Linked DNA regions of Homo sapiens: regions 1, 2, 3, 5, 6 and 7 are each linked to region 4. Evidence: promoter capture Hi-C in human tissues and cell types (Jung and others, 2019). All regions are on one chromosome and are shown on one strand. Each heading gives the region's core, a stretch centred on a gene start or on the middle of the fragment in contact. The rest is flanking DNA. Distances are from core to core; before and after follow the strand shown.

Region 1 (2,751 bases), core at 217-2,716, 270 kb before region 4:
AAGATGTAGTAGAAGGCAGCAAAGATGCTGTTATAGGACATATATCTCGTGACAATAGTGCCTGGGCAACTTTAGTAATCACAGCCTGACCAGACCAAGGCAGCTAAGTCCTCAAAACCTCAGGGGTGAGGCTCTGCATTAATCCAACAAACGAACAACTTAGATCAGTCAGAGAACTGGTTAAAAATAAAGAAAATCTAGAATGGGAGTGAAGGAGCAGAGACTATAGTTGTTTCACTTATGTTAAATTTCTGCAGATATTGTGGCCAACCACCAATTGAAGAGGACATAATGTACTCTCTGAGTAAATCTGAGAGAATGGACTGCATTGCATGCCTCTTGTGCATCACTTTAAATCCTCTTGGCCTTATTCCAGCCATTAGTATAGTTCTGCACAGGCTTTGAGCAACTTTTGTGCTCTATTTTGACAGCACCTCACCTTGGCCTACACATGCACTTTTGGCTTCTGACCTTAGCACTTCTCTGTTGTCATCATGTGACACTCTAGTGGTTACTCTCTTGACACTCATATGTAATGAACCCAGAGTGCAGAGGAGTTAATGCCCCAGAGGACCACCCTTGGCTAGCCAAGAAGAGGATCCTACTTAGACGATCCTGTGTGATTGCACCATATGCTGCTGTAGCAATGGTTAAATTGCCTTTAGATTGGCTTTCACTGCTTAATTCCCTCAACCCTCACTCCCACGCCTAAGATCACATTCTAAGTAAGTTATCCACACATAGTCTTTATCTGAGGCTCTGCTTTGGAGAGGACGCAGACTAAGACTATTTCACAGTTTATTTAAGAATAGGTAATACTAGGGGCCAGAGTATCAAAGCCCCTGACAAGTATGCAAATTCATTCATTCATTCATTCATTTAGTCATTCAACAAATATTTATTGAAGGGCTACTGTGTCACTGGCATAGTAGTAAACAGACTGCTTTTGTCAAACTTACATTCTAGTAAGAGAAGACAGACAATAAATAAGTACATATATCTTATCCAAACAGTGAATGCTAAGAAGAAAAATAAAGCAAAATAAAAGAAAGAGGGAGAGATGAGAGACTGTGGCCAAGGTTGGGCGCAGTGGCTTACGCCTGTAATCCCAGCACTTTGGGAGGCTGAGGCAGGTGGATTGCCTGAGGTCGGGAGTTTGAAACCAGCCTGACCAACATGGAGAAACCCCGTATCTACTAAAAATACAAAATTAGCCGGGCCTGGTGGCACATGCCTGTAATCCCAGCTACTTGGGAGGCTGAGGCAGGAGAATCGCTTGAACCTGGGAGGCAGAGGTTGCGGTGAGCCGAGATAGTGCCACTGTACTCCAGCCTGGGCAACAAGAGTGAAACTCTGTCTTAAAAAGAGAAAAAAAAAAACAAAAAAAACAAGTGGGTCCAAAGGCCCTCTTTTATAAGGTCATATTTGAGCAGAAAAGTGAGTAAAGTGAGAAAACTTGTCATGAATAAATACAGGTAAAAAGCATTCCAAGAAGAGGGACTATAAGTGAAAGGTCTCCACAGATGTGGCACGTTCCGGAGGCAGGAAGAAAACCAGCGGGACTGACTGGAGGAGACAGGTTGAAGGAGAGGCTGGAAGGAGAGAAGATAAGAAAGACAGTACGGGGCCTTAATGCATGGATGCATGGCACCTTGTGGGCTGTTACGTGACGGAAGGGTTCAGAGTACAGGAGCGCTATTCAGAAGGATCACTCTGGGTGCTATGTGCAGGGCAATAAAAGAGGAAGCAATACGGAGGTCATGGCAATAAGGCATGGAAGAGGATGAGGATAGAGACTTGTTCTGAGGCAGTAGCATGGAGCTGGTAAGAGGTAGCTGAATTCTAAAAACTTTTCAAAGGTGGAGCAGTACTAGATTTCCCAGAATTGGATGTGGGGTGTGAGAGAAAGGGAGCAATAATGAAATCTCTCTCCCTTTCATTGCATTGGATAGTTTTTGCCCAGTGCAACTTGAAAAATGGGGTTGATGTTTAGGAAGATGCACAATATCATTGCATAAACTTAGATGGGCAAGGGGATGAGGGGCCTTCTCAACCTGTGCACAGGGGCTTCTCTGGTCTAGCTTTTCCTTTCAGCTGTTGGCTTGCCCCTCTCTCATCCACATGATAAATTCAGGAGTTGGAGAAAAGCTGCTGGGGCTATCTATGGCCCTTTTTTCTAGATGCCCACAAATAGCCTCATATACTGCACCTTTGAAAGGATAGCCTGGGTAGGCTTTGCCTTTGGATATCCAAACATCTCCAACAGTACTCAAACCTTTCATCTCCCCTTTTTTAGACTCTAACAATGGGGCAGAGCTTAGGCTCCTTTCTGAGACCCACCATAGTTGTACTTCCCTTCTTTGCTTTCCGATTTACTTCCGTCACTTTCCCATCCCTATGACAGTCACAAGAATTTTCAGCTAATCTGAAATCTATTTTTTATAGCATAAGCTTTATATACTGAGTGTTTCAAAGTTTCCAAAACATGTTCTTGCAGCTTAAAAACTGTATTATATTTTCCCTTAGGCATGAGCACCAATGACTAAATTGGGGAAGAGGAACTCAAGGGAGAAGGCAGCTCAGAATCAAAGGTACTTGGAATTTGAAGGGGAAAACTTGGTCTCTTAGAATATTATTTTATTATAAATAGCAATCATGGCCAGGCACGGTGGTTCACGCCTGTAATCCTAGCACTTTGGAAGGCCAAGGCAGGTGGGTCACCTGAGGTCAGGAGTTCGAAACCAGCCTGGC
Region 2 (2,700 bases), core at 165-2,664, 420 kb before region 4:
TATATATACATTTATATACACAGATGGAAAATACACACAGTAAAACATGTTCAACATTATTAGTAATGAATAACATGGAAATTAAAACTATAATGAGATACCACTGCACAAAGTAGTGTGTAACATGGTGAAAATTTAAAAGACTGACCATACCAAGCATTGGTAAGGTTGTGGAGGAGCTGAAACTCTCATACACTGATGATGGGAATAAAAAAAAAATGGATCTATCAACTGGAAAGCTATTTAGCAGTTTCTTGTCAAGTTAGACATACACCTACTCTATAAGCCAATTATTTCTCTCCTGGGCATTTATCTAAAAATAAAGAACGAGTATGGCGAAACAAAGTCTTGCACATGAAAGTCCATTGAAGCTTTGTTTATAATAGCCCCAAACTGGAAAAATCCAAATGCACATCAACAGGTAGATAAATAAACAAATCTTGGTATAGTCATACAATGGATTATTGCCCAGTAATAAAAAATAAAAGTAATAAAATTAAAAAGCTATGTTACATGCAACAACATGGATGACTCTCAAAATAACTATAGTGAATTAAAGAATCCAGAAAAAAAAAAAAGTACATACCCTATGATTCCACCTATGTGAACTCTAGAATGAGGGTTAATAGACTTTTTCTGTAAAGGGCATGACATTAAATATTTGGAGACCATAGAATTTCTGATGCAACTGCTGGACTCTGGTATTATGGCACAATAGCAGCCATAGACAACACATAAATGAATGAGTGCAGCTGTGTTTCAATAAAACTTTGTTTACAACAACAGGCAGTTGGTCCACAGGCCATGTAGTTTGCCAACTCTTGTCTAGAAAATGCAATTTAATCTACAGTAACAGAAAGCAGACCGGCACTGGCCAGGAAAAAGGTGAGTGACAAGCGGGTAGAAGAGAAGGGGACAAGAGGGAGCTTTTGAGAATAATCCATAAGGTCACTCTTTATTGTGGTGATGGTTTTGCAGGTATATACATAAGTCAAACTTGTCAAATTATGCACTTTAAATATGTGCAGTTTATCGTACATCAGTTATACCTCAAGAAAGCTGGTAACAAAAAGAAAAGAAGTCCAGGGCTATTTTTCATATCCAATTAAAGATTGACAACAGTTGGCATTTTTTATTCAAGCAGCTTCAGCTCTTGTTTTTCTTCTACTATCTAATGTAATGTAGAAATGAATCTCAAATCCAATCACACTTTTTCATACCAAGTTTTTTTTAATGAAGTTCTCATTTGCAGTATGTTAGTCATCACGCTGCAACTCAGAAGGACATTCAGTCACAAACAGAAGTATTTATTATGTAAGAGAGATATTTATGTGTTTACTTGAACTGCACCTGCCAGATACCCCTTCCCTACCCTGTCCCTCACTCTCCTTTCCCCACTTTTGTGTGGCCACACTTGGACTGTGTACAGAAACACAAACAGCTCCAATATTTTCATGGAGCCCTTTACAAATGGGCAAGGGTTATGCTCTACAACTGGAGGCTAGAATGGATGGCAAAGTGGTAGCACCCCTTTGGCCAGGCTCAGGTAGTTTTGGAAGAGCAACGACAGCTGAAGATCGTGGTTTCTGCCATCTATTTAGATCACTGAGCAAGTTTATGAGACCTGAAGCAACCAGCCTGGGACTATGGCTATCCAAGACACAACTAGTTATCCAGGGGACTTAGGTGATCCTCACCCCATCCCTGTTATCCATTCACAACATAACAGGCTGTCCAGCAAACTGTGACATTCTGTTCTAAGGCTGTGTCCTAAAAAGAATTAAGCGTGAGACATACATTCTTTTTTTTTTTTTTTTGAAAGTTCTGGGATACATGTGCAGAACATGCAGGTTTGTTACATAGGTATACATGTGCATTGTTGGTTTCCTGCACCTATCAACCCATCATCTAGGTTTTAAGCCCCACATGCATTAGCTATTTTTCCAAATGCTCTCCCTCCCCTTGCCCCCAGTCCCATGGCAGGCCCTGAAGTGTGATGTTTCCCTCCTTGTGTCCATGTGTTCTCATTGTTCAACTCCCACTTATGAGTGAGAACACATGGTGTTTAGTTTCCTGTTCCTGTGTTAGTTTGCTGAGAATGATGACTTCCAGCTTCATCCATCCTTGACTGTTGGTTAGATTGACTACCAATGGAATTGTCGTTGCCTAATTCTGCCTGGAATGATTTCATTGCAGCCTATTGTGGGGAGTGGTGAGAAACAGGAAAATCCCTTTCCAATTCATTCCAGTGTACACTGCATGGAAACTTGCAAGAATTGATGTGATTTAGTATAAAAGCCCTGGCTGGGGACCCAGATAGACCTGGGTTGGGATCACAGTTCTGCTTCTTACTAGCTGTGTGACTCTAAGGAATTTCTTTAACCTCTCTGTGCTTCAGTTTTCTCATCTTTAAAAGTAGAATAACTACCAGTTTTCTATGAAGATTAAATGAGGTAACGGAAGCAAAGTACTGAATTAAATGTTAGTGATTAATACTATTATCATTTATGAGGCCTCCTTAGAGAAAATGTTCTCTGGTCTCAATAGCAGTAGCAAAAGAGTTTTTCCAAAAGTTGCTTTATTTTTACTTTATGGACCTCATGAGTCTTGTAATTTACTATTTCTTCATTCATGTTGGATTTAATGTGGCCAATATTTAGCAAATGTGCTTATTTTATTGCTTGTTTTGTCTACCCTTCT
Region 3 (2,700 bases), core at 62-2,561, 500 kb before region 4:
AAATATGACACCATCAAAAGAGATAATAAAGCTTCAACAATGGACCCAGAAGAAATAGAGATCTATGAAATAACTGACAAATAATCCAGAACAATCCTCTTAAAGTTCAGGAAATTCCAAGGACATGCAGGTAGGACATTTTTTTTTAATGTGGCAAATAATTCATCAACAAAATGAGAAATCTGACAAAGAAATAGGAACTTTTTTGGAAATCAAATAGAAATCCTAGAGATAAAGAATAAAATAACTGAACTGAAAAATTCAACATAAAGCTTCAAGAGTAGACTTGATCAACCAGAAGAAAGAATCAATGAGCTCAAAGATAAAACATTTGAAATTACTCTGTCAGAGACGAAAAAAGAATGAAAAAGGCCAATAAAATGATGGGACACCAGCGAGTGAACTAATCTTCACATGATAGGAGTTCCAGAAGTAGAAGAGAAATTAAAAGGCCCAGGAACATATTTAAGGAAATAATGGCTAAAACTTTCCCAAGTCTACAGAAATATGACAACATCCAGGTACATAAACTCAGAGGTCTTCAGTAAAATTCAACCTAACGATTTCATTAAGACACGTGATAATCAAATTAAGAAACATCAAAGACAAAGCAAGAATATTGAAAGCTGCAAAAGAAGCATAATATACTCAAGAGCCCCAATACAGCCCTCAGCAGATCTCTCAGAAGAAACCCTGCACACCCAGAGAGAGTGAGATGATATATTCAAAACGCTGAAAGAAAAATAAAACTGCCAACCAAGAATTAATATTGTAATAATGTCTATACTATCCAAAGTGATCTGTGATTTAATGCAATCGCTATCAAAGTTCCAGTGTCATCCTTCACAGTCATAGAAAAAACAGCCTTTAAATTCATATGGAACTACAGAAGACCTGAATAGCCAAGACAATCTTGAGCAAAAAGAAAAAGCTGTAAACATCACATTCCCTGATTTAAAAATATATTATAAAGTGGTTGCAACCAAAACAGCATAGTATTGGCATAAAAACAGGTACATTGGCCAATGAAACAGGATACAAAGCCTAGAAATAAACTCACACATTTATAGTCGATGGTTTTTGATGAAGGTACTAAGGACACACAGTAGGGAAAAAATAGTCTTTTCAATAAATGATGCTGGGAAAACTTGATGCCATGGAACGAAATTGGATACTTATCTCACATCATATACAAAAATCAACTCAAATGAAAGACCTGAAACTGTAAAACCACTAGAATAAAAAATATAAGAAAAGCTTCATGATATTGGGCAACAATTTTTTGGATATGATCCTGAAAACACAGGCAACAGAAGCAAAAATGGGTAAATGCGATGGCATCAAACTAACAAATTTCTGCACAGTAAATGAAACAATTAACAAAGTGAAGAGATAACCCACAAAATGGGAGAAAATATTTTCAAACAACACATCTGATAAAAGGCTAATATTCAAAATATATAAGGAAATCAAACTAGTCAACAGCAAGAACACAAGCTAATTTTTAAAATGGCAAAGGACTTGAACAGACATTTCTCAATATAAGACTACAAATGGCCAACAGGTACATTGAAAAATGCTTAGCATCACTAATCATTAGGAAAATGCTGATTAAAGCCACAGTAAAATATTATCTCACACCTTTTAGAACGGCTGTGATCAAAAAAGCAAAAGGAAAAAAAATATTGACAAGGATGCAAGGAAAAGGGAACTCTTGTACATTATTGGTGGGACTAATTTGTTACAACCATCATGAAATTTGTATGGAGGTTCATCAGAAGACTAACAACAGAACTACCACATGGCTGTATTGTATATTTCAAAAAAAAAAAGAGTAAATTTCAAAAGTCTCTCCACAAAAATGATAAGTAAATCAAGTGATGGATATGTTAATTATATTGATTAAATCATTTCACATTGTATATGCATATCAAAACATCATATTGTACCCCCAAAATATATACTATTACAAATTGTCAATTTAAAATGCTAATTTTTTAAAAGATGAAACAAAACTGCCCATAATTATTTGAAAATATGTTCAACTTCACAAGGAATGAGAGACATACAAACTTACATTACAATGAAATATTTCACATCCACTAGATTACAAAATTTTTAAATAAAATATAATGAGGATATAGCACAACAGACTTTCTTATGCATTGCTTGTAGAAGTGTAAATTGATTAAAAAAAAAAAAAGCATTTTAGAAAGCAGTTTTTCTTTCTACATGGGAAACCTGACAATTTGACAATATGCATCCTATAGGAGACAGAATAATGTCCCCACCAAAGATGTCCATGTTCTGATCTCAAGCACCAGTGAATATGTCATGTTACACATTAAGGGGAGTTAAGGTTGCAGGTGGAATTCACGTTACTATATTCTGTTACATTACATTTTAACATCAGCTAACACTAAAATGAAGGGATTATCCTGGAAGGCCCGATGTAATCATAGGAGATCTTTAAATGTGAAAGAAGGAGACAGAAGATTCAGGGTCAGAAACACAGATTTGAAAACAGAAGCAAGGTTGGAATGATTCTATGTAAGGACTCAACCCACTGCTGCTGGCTTTGAAGATAGAAAGGGGCCATAAGCTAGCAAGAAACCAGATTCTCCTCTAGAGTGTCCAGAAGGCTTATTCCCCTACTGATACTTTGACTTAAGCCTAGTAATACCCATTTCAGACTTCTGA
Region 4 (2,747 bases), core at 121-2,620:
CATTCTCCCTACCTTTTCCAGGTGGTGGTAGTGGTGCGGGGGGAATGGGTGTTGACCCATGTGCATTTATTCTTCGTGAAGCCTCTTAAGCAGATGTCTGTACTTAGAGAAGCGACCAAAGAGGGAACGTGGACTTATTAGTGGTCTTAGTCCCAATTAGGGAACAGGTACAGTTTCCAATATAAAGAAACTCGGCCTAAGTGGGACTGAGACCCCGATCTCCGCACTTGCTTTTCTCAGCCAACTCCATGACTAGTAAATATCTCTCCGAGAACTGCTGGGCCGCCCGATGTTACTTTGTTTAAAGGTTGCGACTAGGATCCGTACCATCTGCGAAGCCCCCTTGGGGAGCAAGAGCCGCGGCGCGCAGTTGATTTCGGGGCGCAGCGGCAGGGGGAGGGGAACGTGGTGTGGCCCGACGAGTTGGCACAAGCCTGTAACTGCAAGACTTTGTAGCTATTGAAAGTTCAAGTGGTGAAAGAAGGCTGTGCCTGCCATTCTTCATGTGATCATAACAATAGCGCCTTGGAAGTGGTTGCGATTTTCTTCTTCCATAAACCTTTTGGGTTCTCACTGGAATTGTATGCGTGTTATTTCTGAAGTTTACTTATTTCTAAGACCAGTCCACAAAATGTGAACTTCATTAAGTTTTAAAATAGATCGCCGTCGTTAAAAACGCCATTCTCTGCACTGTAGTTTATTTGCTTACTTCACATGCTTTATTAACGTGTGTATGTGCGTAATTAATAGCTGTGTTCTTATCTTCCAAGTGTATTTTTAACCGCACCGGCTTCTATCCAATTCATCTAACTACGTAGAGCGTCCATCGCTTCTGGAATCTACCTCTTGATAACAGTAATCAGAATCAGAAAAGCTCGCCGTTCACTTACCCTCATCCTTTAAAACTTTTCCATTTAAGAAAATCGATGAACAAAACCTTTCTTGTAACTCGCTCCTGCACTACGTCTATTTTTATTTATTTTTCTGATTTGGCAGGACTCAGCAATGCTGTCCGGGATTTTTTTTTTCTTTTTTTTTTTCCTAGCTAGAGCAGATGTGGGGGTGGGGGAGGTGAGGGCTGGGCTCCAGCCAGAGTCGCCCCCGCTGAGCCTCCGCCTAGCGCGCGGTGGGGCCAGGAATCCTGGTGGAAGGAAGCGGCGCTGGCCAGTTGGTCCAAGGCTCCACCTGCAGCCACACCGCGTAGTTTCTCCGCCTCTGCCTCGCTCACTCGCACTCACATACACCACAGCTCTCCTTTGGGTCGGAGGAGACGCCAGCCAAAGTAGGCGGAGTTGCGGAAGGAGAGTCCGATCTGCGCAATCCAGTCCGGGACTTGGCTCCGCCCGGGAGCGGCGGCCTCTCCGGTGACAGAGGAGTAGTGAGCGGCACGGGGTGAGGCTGCAGCCAACTCCGCTCCCCGCGCACTCGGCTGCCCAGGCGCTCGGAACCCAGCAGCGGCGCTCCTCCGCGGTGCCGGTCGCCCGCGATGCCCGCTTAGCAGCGTGTAGCAGCGGCCAGCATCACCACACCCGCGGCACCGCGCTGCCGGCCGCAGAGCCGGGCCAGAGCCTTGCACCCCTGCCCCAGCCCCCACCCCGCCCCCCGCCCTGAAATGACTTGTTAATCGGCGCAGACACCACCAAGGGGACTCACCGAAGTGGAATCCAAGTGGAATTTGGATTTGGAGAAGAGTTTCTTGAACATTTACCCTCTTCCTTGTTGGTTTTCTTTTTCTTTTTCTTCTTTTTTTTTTTGGCTTCTTTTTTCCTCTCCCCTTCTCCGCTCGTCATTGGAGATGAACACATCGCGTTTGCATCCCAGAAAGTAGTCGCCGCGACTATTTCCCCCAAAGAGACAAGCACACATGTAGGAATGACAAAGGCTTGCGAAGGAGAGAGCGCAGCCCGCGGCCCGGAGAGATCCCCTCGATAATGGATTACTAAATGGGATACACGCTGTACCAGTTCGCTCCGAGCCCCGGCCGCCTGTCCGTCGATGCACCGAAAAGGTACGCCCCGGGCGCCCGGGCGCGCCCCACCTCCCGGGCAGCTGGACTCCAGCCTGAGGGTCCCGGGGCCGTGGCTAGCGCGTGCTGTCGGCTTTGTGGTGCCTGCGTTTTATTTTGTCTTGTGTCTCTGTTTCCCGAGCCTTGCCCGGTCCTGGGGGAGCAGCCGTGAGCCCTGCCTGCCTTTCCTCTCTGCCCTGCGCCCCAGAGTGCGTCCGGCTCCACGTCGAGAGCTTTCCCACCCGCGTTGCGCACACGCCCGGCGCCGCCCCGGGCCGCGACGGCGCGTATGGCTGTTCCTCCTGGGGGTGTGTGTGCGAGACCCAAGGCTCATCCTCCCGCGTGCCCAGCAGGGAGCAGAGCGGGCCCTAAATGGTGGGATTCTCGGAAGCTCCCTGGCCCGGTGTGTCGAAGGCAGGGGAAGGGGTTCTGCCCTCGAGGGCTGGAGGGGGTTGGGTATAACAGCGCTGTTTTCGTCCAGTGCCAGGTGGGAGAAGGGGTTCCGCGGAGACGGTGTGGAAGCGGAGAGAATCTTTTGTTGTCAGTGTGGGGTCTGGGCTGGGCTCCGTGGAGTGCAAGAAACTTGTAATGGCTCTAGGCACCCGCGCGCCCTGTCTCTCGGTGAGATCCTGGCTCCTGTGGCCGCTGCCACCAGAGGTTCCGGGCTTTGTTTGCTCGAATAAGTGTCCGGGAGCAGCCGTTCGGGTGACGCGGCGCCCCCGCCATGGGTCCTGTCCCCCGC
Region 5 (2,723 bases), core at 52-2,551, 340 kb before region 4:
CAGAGAATAGCTCATCTGCTTGTCTTCTTCTTTCAGTCGTTTGACAATGGCTTTCAAGAATCTTTTCAAGTGACATGATAAGATGCCACTGCATGCAGTGACATGAGTGGAAGGAAACTGTGACTTCACTTCTACCATCCATGTGAAGCCCATACCGTTCAAATGAAGATGTCTCTAATGACATCATCTCTTCTCCATATCTGTGTCACATAGCAACTACCTTTCATTTAAATATTCTTTGTAATAAGTTTACCACTGTGAAATCCAATATATCTAAGTATTTTCTCAACCCTTTAGTAGCCCAGAGGCCTTTTTAGAATCCTGTATCCTACCTTTCAAAGAAGCAACACATTTTTCTCAGAAGTCACCTGGAACCTGTGATTCCTTGATTTATTCTCTTCCACCAAACAAAATCATGCACAGCATCTGATTTCTTTATGCCTCACAACTCTGACTCCTAGGTTCCCAGGTATGATAAGATCATATTGTAGAGAGTTGTGTTTGTTATACTGTGAGACTGATGCATTAATGTTTTGATGGAAAGGACTTCCCTGATGTTTAGGTCAACACACAACACAGAAGGCCAAGGAAAATGGCACCTTTCCCCACAAATTAGAAGGAAAAAAATGGTTAACTCAAGTCTTCAATGAATGAGAAAGGAGATGTAAAGCCTAGAGAAAGGATGGTAAGAAGGAAAACAAGTGGAGATAGAAAAAGAGAAAACAGACTCACCTGGAATTTAGCCAAGGGGATCTTGGATGGCAAGACAAGCTGAATGGTCAGGGACCAATTATAAGAACCTCACCAACTGCTGTCCTTAGTAAAACTGCTGTCACTCTTTCGTGGTCCCACAGCACTTTGTCTCTACAACTATCTCCACGTACTCACTACAAAAACAATGTATTACAAACCTGTCTCCCTAGGACACTCACATGAAGCAGAGGCTTCATCCATGTGACTTTGGGTTACCACAGACCCTACAAAGAAGAAAGAATACACAAGTCTCCCAGTAAACTCCTCTTAAAATGACTGATGGAATAAATAAACAAATATGTAAACAAATGAAAGAATATGAATAAATGGAGAAAGTGAATGCTGCTTAAAAAAACAAATGGTGGCCGGGCGTGGTGTCTCATGCCTGTAATCCCAGCACTTTGGGAGGCTGAGGCAGGAGGATTACCTGAGGTCAGGAGCTTGAGACCAGCCTGACCAACATGGAGAAACCCCATCTCTACTAAAAATACAAAAAATTAGCTGGGCATGGTGGCGCATGCCTGTAATCCCAGCTACTTGGGAGGCCAAGGCAGGAGAATCGCTTGAACCAGGGAGGCGGAGGTTGTAGTGAGCCGAGATAGCGCCACTGCACTCCAGCCTGGGCAACAAGAGCGAAACTCCATCTCAAAAACAAAAACAAAAACAAAAACAAAAACAAAAAAGAGGCCTGAATGAAGTCGTCAGTGTAACCCAATTCTCTATTCTGAAGGACACAGTAACTGCAAAAACTGTTGTCAGAACCATTGCTAACGAACTGTAGCTTTCTCTGACCTTTACTAAATCCCTTCTTTGCTTCAGTCTCCAGTGTTCCTTTCATTTAGTTCTATTAGAAATGTTTCCACTTGGGTCTTTTTGAACTTTCATTCTGAATCTATGCAGTACTGTTTGTGTGTGTGTGTGTGTGTGTGTGTGCAAGAATACATGTGTGTAGGCGTGAATGTATGCACATGTGTTTTAAAGTCTTATTTCATTTCTGGATTACTAGTGCTAGTCATGCTAATCATAAAAACACAGTTATTTTTAAGCTCAAACCCCAAAAGAAAGCATGTCCTGAAGTTAAAAATGCATTCCAACCACCATCCACAGGTCCGCCCTAAACAACCGCGCATCTTCGTACAGATGGCTTTAACTCATGAGACAAACTTCCACTTTCTGCCCCTTCTCTGACTGAAAGTATATTTAATATTATTTCTCTCTGAGATTCAATTACAAATGAATTATTTTTAATTTCAACTACTGACAAAATAAGTAAAGCAGCTGGGCTTGCAATAAATCACCCTGTAAATGTGTAGAAACTGTTTAGAACAAACAAGTAGACAAGCACAGCTGCCATCATCATTGGGACATTCCATTCTACACCAACAAGGCTGATCTGAGCCATCACCTCATAATGAACAGCACTTCTCAGTTCACTGGACCCTGAAAAATATACTTACACAGGCAAAAACGATCCCAAATGAGAAGGGAACTGCTGTCCTGGAAAAGAAAAAAAAATTAGGCAAATGTTTGAAGTTTCTGTGCCTTACTTTGCCCATACTGCCATCTTTACTTAAAATAACAGACATAAGAAAATACAAACTTCTTTGGTTTTTACCAGTCTTTAGCATGGTGGTGGCAAAAAATCTGAGAAAACAGAATGACCTAAGACGGGTTCACTGGAGATTTTTTCTACAACCAGCACCACAAGGATGTTCTCAGCTTTAGGCAGATCTGATCTTGCTCTACACTCTTCTCCCGTCAGTGAAGTTCACCATAGTGGATCATTGTCACCACTTTATGGTGGATGGCTCCATCTAAGTCATACAAAAACTTCTACTGGACACTGATGGGAGACAAAGCCCACACGCAAAGGGAGACAATGGAGAGATGTGACTGCCGAGTCACATTTGTCTTCTATCTCAATCAACTTCAATGCTACTGTCAAATTGGTATTTTCTAACTTGTATTTC
Region 6 (2,730 bases), core at 143-2,642, 320 kb before region 4:
GAAATACACATCAATCTCATTTGGCCTATTTTAAAAGGAAAGAGTACTGCCAGAGCAAAGTGATAACCCAATGGTGTTGTCCAGCAGCAGGCAGGAATGGGAGTCCAAGCAACTAAGGAAATCAGCATAAATACTAAGAGTTAAGTAACAAGAGATCCTAGTCCAAAGCAGTTAACATGGTGGAGGAATCAGGCAGCTAGTAGGTCATAGAGGTATAACCTAGAAGGTAGTTCAATCCCAGACCCCCAGATGTCTCTGCATTCCCGATGACTTCCCTTCCCATGTCCATTCTGCCTTCAAATTTCTATTGCTACATAAGTCTGCATTCCACTCTTCTCTCAAGACGGGTGGCCTCTTCTGCCCCTCCTCTCTGCTCAGCTCCGAACCCAATCTATATGAGTGTCTTCATTGTTGCACACATGAATACACATATGCACACAGAGACACACACACACCAGTCACTAAAAGCTCTTTTCTATGTAGCACATATTACTGAAGTCTTGGGGAAACAGATGAATTGACTTCTAGCTATTAAAATAACTTAAAATCTAGAAGTTCTTCAGCCACCCTACTGTGTTGTTTAGTCATTCACTCTGCCCTTATTCCCAATACCCTCACTAAAATTCTCCCTGTCCTCCAAATTCCTGCTTATCTTTTATGAATAGCAGATTAGCAATCTTTTTTTTTATTTTGTTCAAATCTGTACTCTAAGAGACAGATTTAACATAACTATCAAGGAGTTTCCCAAACGAAGACAGTTCCCCACCTTGTGTTATACTCATCCTTATTACTATAACTATCAATATTATTTTAATTTTTACTTATCCAGCTCTAAAGTCAAGTTGTCTTCTGGTTTTTCTCCCACTTAATGAATCCTCTTTTACCAACCTCCAAATGTCAGAAAGACACGAGGGTTCAGTATTGTGACCTCATTAGCTCTCTATTAGAGTCTGCTCCTATGTAATCTCATCAAGTCACAAGACCTTAAAGAACAAATATGCTATTGACTTCCAAATTTTATATCTCCAGCTTTGCTCTTGTAGATGTCAAATAAAAATCTAAAACATCGACAAATCTAAAACAGCATGTTAATTATTCTCCCCAAACCTGTCTTTTTATTTCCAGTGTTGTCCATCTCAGTAAATGGAAGGCCAAGGTGGGAGGATCACTTGAGCCCAGGAGGTCAAAGCTGCAGAGAGAGCTATGATTACACCACTGAACTCCAGCTTTTATTAAGACCCTGTCTTAACAAAAACAACAACAACTACAACAACAACAAAGAACATTATTGAGAAAATGAAAATGCAACCTACAAAATGGGAGAGAATATTTGCAAATCACATATTTGAAAAAGGTCTAGTATCTAGAATATATAAATCACTCTTACAACTCACTAACAAAAGGAAAAAAAAGGGGCAAAAGATTTGAATAAGTGTAACTCCCAAAAAGATACATGAATACAAATATCAATAAGTACATGCAAAGATGTTTAACATCATTGGGGGTTAGAAAAATGAAAATCAAAATCATAATGACATACCACCCACCTGAATTACTATAATTTTTTTAAATCAGAATATAAAAGGAATTGCTGATAATGTATTAAAATTGGAACCCTCATACATTGCTAGTGGAAGGTATATTGGTATAGACATTGTGGAAAACAGTTTGGTATTTCTTAAAAAAATAAGTAACATGTAATATTCATACATACAACTGAATGTTAGGCAGTTAGAAATAAAGTGCACATGGAGCAACAAGAACTTTCTTTGATTGTTGCTGGGAATGCAAAATGCTATAGTCATTTTGGAAAATAGTCTAGCAGTTTCTTACAAAACTAAACGTACTGTTATCATACGATTCAGCAATTGCATTTCTGGATATTTACTCAAAGGTTTTGTAAACTTTTACCTACCAAAAACTCTGCACACGGATATTTATAGTAGCTTTATTCATAGTTGCCAAAACTTTGAAGCATCCAAGATGGCCTGCCGTAGGTGTGCAGATAAATAAACAGGTACATCTAGATAATGGAATAGTACTCAGTGGTAGAAGGAAATAAGCTGACAAGCCATGAAAAAACAGGGAAGAAACTTAAATGCATAGACTAACTGAAAGAAGGCAATCTGAAAAGGCCACATACTGCATGACCTGAACTATATGACATTCTGGAAAAGTCAAAACTGTAGAGACAGTATAAAGATCAGTGGTTGCCAGGGGTTAGAGAAGAAGGAGATGAATACTGATTGGGTTCAGAATATACTTCCCCAAAATATGGCACCTTGGCATTTGAGAAAGCAACAGAAACAAGAAGGTCACTCTCACCCTCCCCACACCACTCTTTCCTGAAGCAGGTCATAAAACCTAGGATGAATTTTCTGACTTTCATAAGATATGGAAGTTCCTATCCTATTGGTACATGGAGAGTACGTCTCACATGGGGGTCTTATGAATATCCATATCTCTGAAGACAAAGGGTCACAGAGAAGAATCTGAACAAATGGGTCTCACTACATTTCCCTCAGTTTGTTACCATTAGATCATACCCTTTTTGACCTGGTACATTTACCCATAACTATCCATACTATCCATTTTTCATCAAACCTAGCATAGAAATACGCAGGTTTAACCATTTATTTGAGTTTTCACTTCTTTACAGTTATTCCCATGTCACATAAAGCTTATATGAAATGAATATGTATGCTTTTCTCTTGTTAATTTGTATTGTTA
Region 7 (2,700 bases), core at 90-2,589, 300 kb before region 4:
GATATAGGCTAGACATTCCCATTCTAAATGGGAGAAATAGTAAAGAAGAAAGGGATAACAGGTCCCAAGTAAGTCTGGAACCCAACAGGGCAAACAACATTAAATCTTAAGTCTCAAAAATAACCAATAACCTTTGACTCAATGTTCCACCCTCTAGACACATTGGAGTAAGAGTTAGGCCCCCAGAGCTCCAGGTAGCCCTGCCCTGTGGCTTTGCTGGGCACAGCCCACACCACAGCTCTTACTAGTTATAGCCAAGTGCCTTAAGCTCTCCCAGGCTGGAATCACACCTGGTGACTCTACTAGTCAGAGGTTTCAGAGGCAGCCTTGCCCCCATGGCTCCACTAGTCATTGCCCTGCTGGGGGTTCTTTGTTGTGGCCTAGCCCCACAGTGGCCCTCTGTCTGGGTCATATGCCCAAGGGTCCAGGAGGCTCCATCCTTCTAAATCTAAGTGGAGGTAACCACACTCCACAGCTCATGGACTCTGTATGGCCGTGGAGATGGCACCACCGAGACACTGCCAGGGTTTACCAGTTGTGCCCTTTTGCAGAGTGGTTATTGTACCTGCACTGCACTTGGGCCCACTGGATCTAAAATCTGGGGTGGCTAAGGAGCACTGAGCTAGAATGCAGGGAGCAGAGCCTTGAAGGGGTGCCAGGCAGCCAGTAAGAAGGTCCTGTAGAAGCCCATGATCCCTCATTTAAAATCATTCTGCCCCCGAGGCTTTTGCACTCTGGGCCTCCAATGAGAGGGGCATCAGTGATGGTCTCCAAACTTCCTTTGTTGTTATTCTTCCATTGTCTGAATGACTACCACTTGACAACTCCATACTAATCTCCTCTTTATCAAACAGCAGTTTGGCCATAACTTTGGTGGTCTCTCTCAAATATACTTTCTAATTCCTTTAAATATGGACAAAGTGATAATTTTCCAAATCTTTGCATTCTGCTTCTCTTTTGATTAAAAATCCCATCTTTAAATCATTTCACTCTTCTTACATTTTACTATCTGCCTCCAAGAGAACAAGAGAAGCCAAGCTGAAGCTGCACCCTCAACATCAACACTTTGCTAAGAAATGTCCCCAGCTTCATTTCCTATGTTATCATTCACAAGTTCCATCTTTTTCCATCTTTTCCACAAATACTAGGGCATGAACACAATTCAGACAAGTTCTTTGCCCCTTTTTCAGTAAGGATGGCCTTTTCTCCAGTGTCTAATCAAATATTCCCCATTTCCACCTGAGATGTCATCAAAATGGACTTTACTGTCCATATTCCTATCAACATTGTTTATGATTTTGTGATTTCTTAGATATGCACCTCAAAACTCTCCCAGCCTCTCTCTATTACCCAGTTCCACAGCCATTTCCACATTTCAGGTATTTGTTACAGCACCATTCCATTTCTGGTACCAATTTCTATCTTAGTTCATTTGGGCTGTTATAACAAAATATCATAAACTGGGTAGCTTATTGACAACAGAAATGTATTGCTCATACTCCTGGAGACTGAGAAGTCCCAGATCAAGATATCAACAGATTCTGTGTCTGGTGAGGGCCTATTTCCTTATTAATGGTGGTACCTTTTCACTGTGTTCACGTGGCAGAAGAGACTAGCTAGTTCTCTGTAGTTTCCTGGTTAAGGGCACTAATCTCATTTGTAAGGGCTCTGCCCCATGATTAAATTACTTCCCAAAGGCTTTACCTGCTGATATGGCTTGGCTCTGTGTCCCCACCCAAATCTCATCTTGAATTGGACTCCCATAATTCCCACGTGTTGTGGGAGGGACCCAGTGGTACATAATTTGTATCATGGGGGCAGTTTCCCCCATACTTTCTTTGTGGTAGTGAATAAGTCTCACAAGATTTGATGGTTTTGTCAAGGGTTTCTGCTTTTACATCTTCCTCATTTTCTCTTGCCACCACCACATAAGAAGTGCCTTTTGCCTCCAGCCATGATTCTGAGTCCTCCCCAGCCATGTGGAACTGCAAGTTCAATTAAACCTCTTTTTCTTCCCAGTCTTGGGTATGTCTTTAACAGCAGCATGAAAACAGACTAATACACCTGCTAATACCATCACCTTGGGGTACAGGATTTTAACAGATAAATTTATCATGGGGCAGGGGCAGGTAGGGGTGAATAATGGCACAAACATTCAGACCATAGCCAGGACATTCTACAAAATACCTGACCAGTACCCTTAAACTGTCAAGGTCATCAAAACAAGAAAAGTCTGAGAAACTGTCAAAGTCTAAAGAAGCTAAAGAGACATGATGGTTATCTCAGATGGGATCCTGGAACAGAAAAAGGACATTAGGTAAAAACAAAGATAATATGAATAAAATATGGATGTTAGTTATTAATAATGTATCAGGGATGGGCACAGTGACTCATGCCTGTAATCCCAGCACTTTGCGGGGCTGAGGCCAGCAGATTGCTTGAGCTCAGGAGTTTGAGACCAACCTGGGCAACATGGGAAAATCCTGCCTCTACAGAAAAAAAAAAATTAGCCGGGCATAATGGCATGCACCTGTGGTCCTCACTACTAAGGAGGCTGAGGTGAGAGGATCCCTTGAGCCCAGGAAGTCAAGGTTGCAGCAAACAGTGATTGCACCACTACACTCCAGCCTGGGCAACACAGCAAGATCCTGTCTCAAAAAAAAAAAAAAATATCAGTATTGTTTTATTAATTGTAACAAA

What was found. The method cuts DNA at HindIII sites, captures the fragments that hold promoters and counts their contacts. A contact is called where the count stands out against the background at its distance.
Region 1: a fragment that was not itself captured here is called in contact with the fragment with the promoter of SEMA6A in region 4 in 1 of the 25 tissues and cell types used here (heart left ventricle).
Region 2: a contact is called between a fragment that was not itself captured here and the fragment with the promoter of SEMA6A in region 4, in 2 of the 25 tissues and cell types used here (lymphoblastoid cells and thymus).
Region 3: a fragment that was not itself captured here is called in contact with the fragment with the promoter of SEMA6A in region 4 in 2 of the 25 tissues and cell types used here (mesenchymal stem cells and neural progenitor cells).
Region 5: a fragment that was not itself captured here is called in contact with the fragment with the promoter of SEMA6A in region 4 in 2 of the 25 tissues and cell types used here (lymphoblastoid cells and neural progenitor cells).
Region 6: a contact is called between a fragment that was not itself captured here and the fragment with the promoter of SEMA6A in region 4, in 1 of the 25 tissues and cell types used here (lymphoblastoid cells).
Region 7: a contact is called between a fragment that was not itself captured here and the fragment with the promoter of SEMA6A in region 4, in 2 of the 25 tissues and cell types used here (H1 embryonic stem cells and mesendoderm cells).

Annotation. Positions count from the first base shown.
Region 1 is chr5:116,847,081-116,849,831 of GRCh38, reverse strand. No RefSeq gene overlaps it. Among named protein-coding and RNA genes, the nearest start is that of LINC02214, 86 kb to the right of the region's middle. The HindIII fragment of the contact is 8,367 bases long and covers 1-2,751 here.
Region 2 is chr5:116,994,148-116,996,847 of GRCh38, reverse strand. No RefSeq gene overlaps it. Among named protein-coding and RNA genes, the nearest start is that of LINC02214, 230 kb to the right of the region's middle. The HindIII fragment of the contact is 5,158 bases long and covers 1-2,700 here.
Region 3 is chr5:117,069,313-117,072,012 of GRCh38, reverse strand. No RefSeq gene overlaps it. Among named protein-coding and RNA genes, the nearest start is that of LINC02214, 310 kb to the right of the region's middle. The HindIII fragment of the contact is 3,121 bases long and covers 1-2,700 here.
Region 4 is chr5:116,573,446-116,576,192 of GRCh38, reverse strand. SEMA6A (semaphorin 6A) reads left to right here and starts at 1,370. Exons shown (of 19, transcript NM_020796.5): 1 at 1,370-2,008. SEMA6A-AS2 (SEMA6A antisense RNA 2) reads right to left here and starts at 1,775. Exons shown (of 3, transcript NR_147170.1): 1 at 1,654-1,775. RefSeq lists a silencer at 1,535-1,614. The HindIII fragment of the contact is 11,240 bases long and covers 1-2,747 here.
Region 5 is chr5:116,911,793-116,914,515 of GRCh38, reverse strand. It overlaps LOC105379136 (a long non-coding RNA gene), which reads right to left. Exons shown (of 3, transcript XR_948692.2): 2 at 2,211-2,250; 3 at 922-977. All of the region lies in intron 1 of LOC105379135 (a long non-coding RNA gene), which reads left to right. Among named protein-coding and RNA genes, the nearest start is that of LINC02214, 150 kb to the right of the region's middle. The HindIII fragment of the contact is 5,708 bases long and covers 1-2,723 here.
Region 6 is chr5:116,895,696-116,898,425 of GRCh38, reverse strand. No RefSeq gene overlaps it. Among named protein-coding and RNA genes, the nearest start is that of LINC02214, 130 kb to the right of the region's middle. The HindIII fragment of the contact is 4,439 bases long and covers 1-2,730 here.
Region 7 is chr5:116,868,652-116,871,351 of GRCh38, reverse strand. No RefSeq gene overlaps it. Among named protein-coding and RNA genes, the nearest start is that of LINC02214, 110 kb to the right of the region's middle. The HindIII fragment of the contact is 6,591 bases long and covers 1-2,700 here.